Regions from separate parts of the Homo sapiens genome. Here region 2 is linked to region 1. The links are contacts of gene promoters, found by promoter capture Hi-C in human tissues and cell types (Jung and others, 2019). All regions are on one chromosome and are shown on one strand. The core of a region is centred on a gene start or on the middle of the fragment in contact, and the rest is flanking DNA. Distances in the headings are between cores, read along the strand shown.

Region 1 (3,449 bases), core at 770-3,269:
CCATTGCACAGTTACCACCCAGAATAATTATGTTAGAATCTCTTGGTGTGTGGCCCAAACAGCAGTATTTTTTGGAATCACCAGGTGATTCCAATGCACTGCTAAGGGTAAGAACCATTGCACTAGAGCAGTGCTTCTCAAAGTGTGGTCCCTGAGCAAGTAACAGCAGTATCTGGGAACTTGTTCGAAATGCAGATTCTGGCCAGGCACGGTGGCTCACGCCTGTAATCCCAACACTTTGGGAGGCCCAGACAGGTGGGTCACCTGAGGCCAGGAGTTCGAGACCGGCTTGGCCAACACGGTGAAACTCCGTCCCTACTAAAAATACAAAATTAGCTGGGCGTGGTGGCTGCACACCTGTAATCCCAGCTACTCAGGAGGCTGAGGCAGGAGAATTGCTTGAACCTGGGAGGTGGAGGTTGCAGTGAGCTGAGATCACACCATTGCACTCCAGCCTGGGCGACAAGAGCGAAACTCCTTCTCAAAAAAAAAAAAAAATAAAAATAAAAATAAAAAAGAAAAGAAAGAAAGAAATGCAGATTCTCAGACTCACCAATGACCTGAAACTCTGGGAGTAGGACCCAAGAACCTGGGTTTTAAGACACCCTCCAGGTGATTCTGATACACTCTCAAGTTTGAACATGGGTTTGAAAAGGGCTAACTTGACTCCGTGGAGTCAAGAGCTGGGGAAACCCAAGCACACCTTAGGTCCAGGTATAAAATTAGGCTAGGTTCTAAGCAACTGGAATCAATCTCCTAATGGACATACCAAAGAATAAGAACTGTTTTCAGGATGGCAACTAGAATACTGAATCCCCACAACACAGTCTTTCTGATCCTTTTTTAGGAGAGACATCTGCCAAAGGCCCTCTCAGACTGTCAAAACATCCTGGAATATATTTGCGTCCAACTCTGCACCTTGCTCTCTATTCCCTCACTTCAAACACTAACCTTTCCCATTTGTGCTCTCACCTGAACTGAGTAAATAAGCTTCTAACCACTCTTCTCCCCACCCCTCTCTTCTTGGTATCCAAGATGAGAGTGGCAGGCGAAAGGGTAGTTCTAATGTACCCAAGCAAATGGATACACATCCTAAAACAGGAGTGACTTATGCAGCTGCCCCTCCAGAGTGCATCTCACCTGCTTCAGCAACACAGTTGCCCTTTGGTCTAACCTCCCCCCCTCAACCGCCCCCACGTTCCTATTCCTGGAAAATGGAAAATTCCATAGCCAAACATCAAGCAGACACTTCCCAGAATGCAGCTCATCTCCTCTTCTCCTCCCGCAGAGATACCTCAGGTCTATAGGATTAAGAAAGGCAAGCCCAGCAGCCACTACTCACTGACCAGACCTGGCCCAACATGCTGCAGAAATAATTATCAATTAGTATACTTGAGAGACAGCAGCGTGAGGTGGAGAATGGGTTCTAAACTGAATGACAGCTGTTAACAGTTTTTGGCCCTGTTTTTCCTGTCCTGAATCCTCAACTGAGATCCTAGGGATGAGAAACGGGGGAACAGCACGCCCTACTTGAGAGAATTAGAATTTGAGGCGCTAGGAAGCAAAAGGTAAGAAACAGCTTAAATGTGTGGTAGCACTCCTGAAAATATGCTGGGGCCCCTCAAAAAGCTCACCTTCCCTCACTTCCCACTTCAACTGATTATGAGCATCTTGCTTGATTAAAAGCAATTCATAATAGTAATTGAGAATTAGTAAGAAAAAGCTTAATTAAGCTGAGATTAATTATTTAAGCTGGTACTCGAGGTTTTGGAAGAAAAGTAGAAATTTAATGTCAAGGTATGGAGGAAGAAAAAAGTATGATTGGAGTCAATTATATCTTTTGACAGACAGGAGACCTGATGAATGTCCCTGTCCCTCCAGAGTCCCTGAAGCACCAGTGAAGGGAGAGGGCCTGGCGAGACAGCATGTACAGGTACTTGGGAGTTGTCTAGTAACTTGCTGGTTGGAGGGGGAGGGACTAGCTCAGGGCCCAGGGGGAGGTCTATACTGAAGTTGCTGCCTTTAGAGAGCTGGAGAGGCAGGAGGCTGAGGACTGAAAAGAGAGGGTGAGTAATTCTTCATGACCTGTAGGATCCCAAAGATGGCGACCTGCCAGCCTGGACTGCCAGCGAAGGCCAGAATCGTGCTGTAGCTCTGAACCCACAGCTCCTCTGCCCCTGGCCCATGAGAATTTCAGCTGGAGAGATAGCATGCCCTGGTAAGTGAAGTCCTGCCACTTCGAGACATGGAATCATCTTTCTCATTTGGAGTGATCCTTGCTGTCCTGGCCTCCCTCATCATTGCTACTAACACACTAGTGGCTGTGGCTGTGCTGCTGTTGATCCACAAGAATGATGGTGTCAGTCTCTGCTTCACCTTGAATCTGGCTGTGGCTGACACCTTGATTGGTGTGGCCATCTCTGGCCTACTCACAGACCAGCTCTCCAGCCCTTCTCGGCCCACACAGAAGACCCTGTGCAGCCTGCGGATGGCATTTGTCACTTCCTCCGCAGCTGCCTCTGTCCTCACGGTCATGCTGATCACCTTTGACAGGTACCTTGCCATCAAGCAGCCCTTCCGCTACTTGAAGATCATGAGTGGGTTCGTGGCCGGGGCCTGCATTGCCGGGCTGTGGTTAGTGTCTTACCTCATTGGCTTCCTCCCACTCGGAATCCCCATGTTCCAGCAGACTGCCTACAAAGGGCAGTGCAGCTTCTTTGCTGTATTTCACCCTCACTTCGTGCTGACCCTCTCCTGCGTTGGCTTCTTCCCAGCCATGCTCCTCTTTGTCTTCTTCTACTGCGACATGCTCAAGATTGCCTCCATGCACAGCCAGCAGATTCGAAAGATGGAACATGCAGGAGCCATGGCTGGAGGTTATCGATCCCCACGGACTCCCAGCGACTTCAAAGCTCTCCGTACTGTGTCTGTTCTCATTGGGAGCTTTGCTCTATCCTGGACCCCCTTCCTTATCACTGGCATTGTGCAGGTGGCCTGCCAGGAGTGTCACCTCTACCTAGTGCTGGAACGGTACCTGTGGCTGCTCGGCGTGGGCAACTCCCTGCTCAACCCACTCATCTATGCCTATTGGCAGAAGGAGGTGCGACTGCAGCTCTACCACATGGCCCTAGGAGTGAAGAAGGTGCTCACCTCATTCCTCCTCTTTCTCTCGGCCAGGAATTGTGGCCCAGAGAGGCCCAGGGAAAGTTCCTGTCACATCGTCACTATCTCCAGCTCAGAGTTTGATGGCTAAGACGGTAAGGGCAGAGAAGTTTCAAAGTGCCTTTCTCCTCCCCACTCTGGAGCCCCAACTAGATCAGCAGGAGCTAGGGGGATGAGAGCACTTGCTTCAGGCAATTGACCCCTGTCCCAGCATCCCCCACCCCCAGACTGACAGGTAACTGAGGCAGAGTCCTGACTTTCTTCTATAATCAGTTTCCCCATTTTCA
Region 2 (3,419 bases), core at 247-2,746, 34 kb after region 1:
GTACAAGGAGCTCTTCAATTAAATTCTCTTCATAAATACCTGTTCTAAGTCAACAAAAATAAGCATGGGGAAAGGACTCCCTATTCAATAAATGGTACTGGGACAGCTGACTAGCTATATGCAGAAGAATAAAACTGGGCCCCTACCTTTCACCATATACAAAAATTAACTCAAGACAGATTAAAGATTTAAATGTAAGACCTCAAATTTTAAGAATCCTAAAAGAAAACCTAGGAAACGCCATTCTGGGCATTGGCCTTGGGAAATAATTTATGACTAAGTCATCAAAAGCAATTGCAACAAAACAAAAAATTGACAAGCGGGACCTGATTAAACTAAAAATCTTCTTCCAACAAAAGAAACTACCAACAGAGTAAAGAAACAACCTATAGAATGGGAGAAAATATTCACAAACTATGCATCTGATGAAAATCTGGTATCCAGCATCTATAAGGAATTTAATTCAACAAGCAAAAACCAAATAACTCCATTAAAAAGTAGGCAAAAGACATGAACGGACACTTCTCAAAAGAAGACATACAAGCAGCCAACAAACATAAAAAGATGCACAATATCACTAATCATCAGAGAAATGTAAATCAAACCACAACAAGATACCATCTCACACCAGTCAGAATGGTTATTATTAAAAAGTAAAAACAACAGATGCTGGCGAGGCTGCAGAGAAAAGGGAATGCTTAGACACCATTGGTGGGAATGTAAATTAGTTCAGCCACTTTGGAAAGCAGTTTGGAGACTTCTCAAGGAACTTAAAACAGAGAGCTACCATTCAACCCAGCAATCCCATTACTGAGTATATATCCAAAAGAAAATAAATAATTCTACCAAAAAGACACATACACTCCTATGTTCATCACAGCACTATTCACAATAGCAAAGACATGGAATCAACCTAGGTGCCCACCACCGTTGGACTGGATAAAGAAAATGTGGTACATATACACCATGGAATACTATGCAGTCATAAAAAAGAACAAAATCATGTCCTTTGCAGTAACATGGATTGAGCCAGAGGCCATTATCCTAAATGAATTAATGCAGGAACAGAAAACCAAAGATAGCATGTTCTCACTTATAAGTGGGAGCTAAATATTGCATACTCATGGACAAAGATGGCAACAATAGACACCAGGGAATAATAGAGGCAGGAGAGAAGGAGGGGGACAAGGGTTGAAAAACTGTTGGGTACTGTGCTCACTATCTGGGTGATGGGATCATTCATATCCCAAACCTGAGCATCATACAATATACCCATGTAATAAACCTGCACATGTACTCCCTGAATCTAAAATAAACGGTGAAAAAAAAACTTGTTCTGTAAACCTAAAATGATATAAAAATTCTGTAAATTACTATCATTTTAGTCCAGAAAGACTGTCTCATATTTTTATCCATCAACCACCAGTGGTTTATTTCATGTGTGTTGTTTTTCATGTCTTTCTCTCTGTTCTCAAACCCCTCTCTGAATTGCAATAAATAGATCTCTCCTTTGCTAACCTAGCCACTTGTGGTTTCACTAGTGGTCAAATTTAAAAAAGCATGTGTCCTCTTACTTTTTTCTCGCAATCCCCTTAAAATAATTTGTTAAAACTTTGGGTTCCCCTCACTTATTTTAATCCTATATTTAGTGCTTTTAACTAATCATAAGCTTAAATACGTTAATAAGTAGAAAATATTTACCATTTTATGAAATAAGATGAAAATTTATATTAAAAGAAATGTTTCAGTCTGTGACTTGAAAAAACCTTAAAGAAATCCAACTATACTCTTAACAAGTCAGCACCACCAACCTATACTATTCTGGTTCTGAATTCAGAATATTCCAATACAGGCCAAAATATACCATGTTTAAAGCCAAATCTCACCCTGAATAGAAATATTAATAAGACAGGGAAAGACAGAGGCATTACAGACTTAAGATACCCAAATTGGTTACTAAAATAGGCTTCTCCAAGAACTGTATTTCAGTTTACCCCTCTGTTTGGCATCCCAGGTTATACCACAGGTCAACATACCATACCAAGATTTAGAATAGGTGGGGACGTACATTTCTTTTGTAAAATTGAGTAAGGGCTATTATGAACAGATTCATTCTCGTACCAGTTTTAGGATGGAGTACAAATGGATGTAAGAGATCTGGAAATTGATTCCTATAAAACTGCATAGCCCTTGGAAAGAACCTATAGGGTCTTGCATACCCCAGTGTGAGGACCAGTGGATTAACACATATCATAATAAACTGACTGCCATTTATTGAGCATCTACTACACCAAGTACAATGATAGGCAGTTTATATATATATTATCGCTAATCCTTTACAACTCTATGTTATAAACACTGTATTATATTCATTTTTCAAATGATGAAATTGAGGCTTAATGCAGTTAACTGATTTGCCCAAGGTTCTACAGCTGGCAAGTGACAGAGTGGGAATCTGAACCCAAATCTGACTCAAAGTTATGCTCCTTTCAAATCACACTGTATCTCTCTTACCTTTAGAACATCGGTGGGATTGGCTATAGTGGAAGATATCACTCCTGACACTACCCCACAGATCATATTAATTAAAAGAGTTTCATCTGTGAAAAGGAAAAGAAAAAGAAAGGTCTGCTTGTATTAGGCACCAGTTTGAGTACATACTACTGACCTACTGGAGGAAGGGAAACTTGGTTAGAGAGATGACTTTAGAAATGAACCAAAAAGCTTAGGAAAATAAAGAAACTCAAATATTTCTAGATCTCAATTCAGTGCTAAAATATATTAAAACTTGTAAAATATAAATCATTTCTAAAAACATCATTATTTCTAAAGGACACTGGAACACGTCCTTTTCTTCTACATAACTATCAGTATCCCACACACAAATTCAGAAGGTGGTATTTCCCCTTCGACCTTTTCAAACATCTAAAGAACATACTTTTTAAGTCTTTTTCTGGGTAATCATCAACTCTAAAGATTCAGGAACTGAATGTTAAAAGAGAAAATCTTACGTCTAATACAAAAAACTTATTTGAATATTAATTTTGATAGGCCTGAGATCTCTCCTAGCCTCTGTTAATTTATAAAATATTTCTGTAGTCAAATATGAAAAAGCAATCATTTAGAACTAAATCTCCTCAGTGAGAAAAAAGAACAAAGAAACCACAGAGCACATTGTTCTATAGTGAAATTCAATCTTTACCGCTCCTTCACACCATGAAGACCCCACAAATAGAAACTAAATAAACCCAAGTGAAGAATCTATGAAAGAAAAATATTTCAGAAAGAGGTGGAAGAGAACCCTTCACAATCCCCAAAAAAAGGCTTCAGAAAAAGTTGACTTTAGGACAATAAAGTGATTCAAAGGACATTACTAACCGAAAGGCTTTCCAGCTGTCCCCAAACATCCAACAGCCCCA

The links. Contacts are between HindIII fragments. The study calls those that stand out against the background at their distance.
Region 2: a fragment that was not itself captured here is called in contact with the fragment with the promoter of GPR119 in region 1 in 1 of the 25 tissues and cell types used here (hippocampus).

The regions. Positions count from the first base shown.
Region 1 is chrX:130,384,244-130,387,692 of GRCh38, reverse strand. It overlaps GPR119 (G protein-coupled receptor 119), which reads left to right and starts at 2,019. Exons shown (of 2, transcript NM_178471.3): 1 at 2,019-3,257. The coding sequence starts at 2,246. The coding sequence ends at 3,253. The HindIII fragment of the contact is 3,374 bases long and covers 1,358-3,449 here.
Region 2 is chrX:130,349,827-130,353,245 of GRCh38, reverse strand. SLC25A14 (solute carrier family 25 member 14) reads right to left here. Exons shown (of 11, transcript NM_001282195.2): 6 at 2,515-2,600. Among named protein-coding and RNA genes, the nearest start is that of SLC25A14, 12 kb to the right of the region's middle. The HindIII fragment of the contact is 3,303 bases long and covers 1-3,147 here.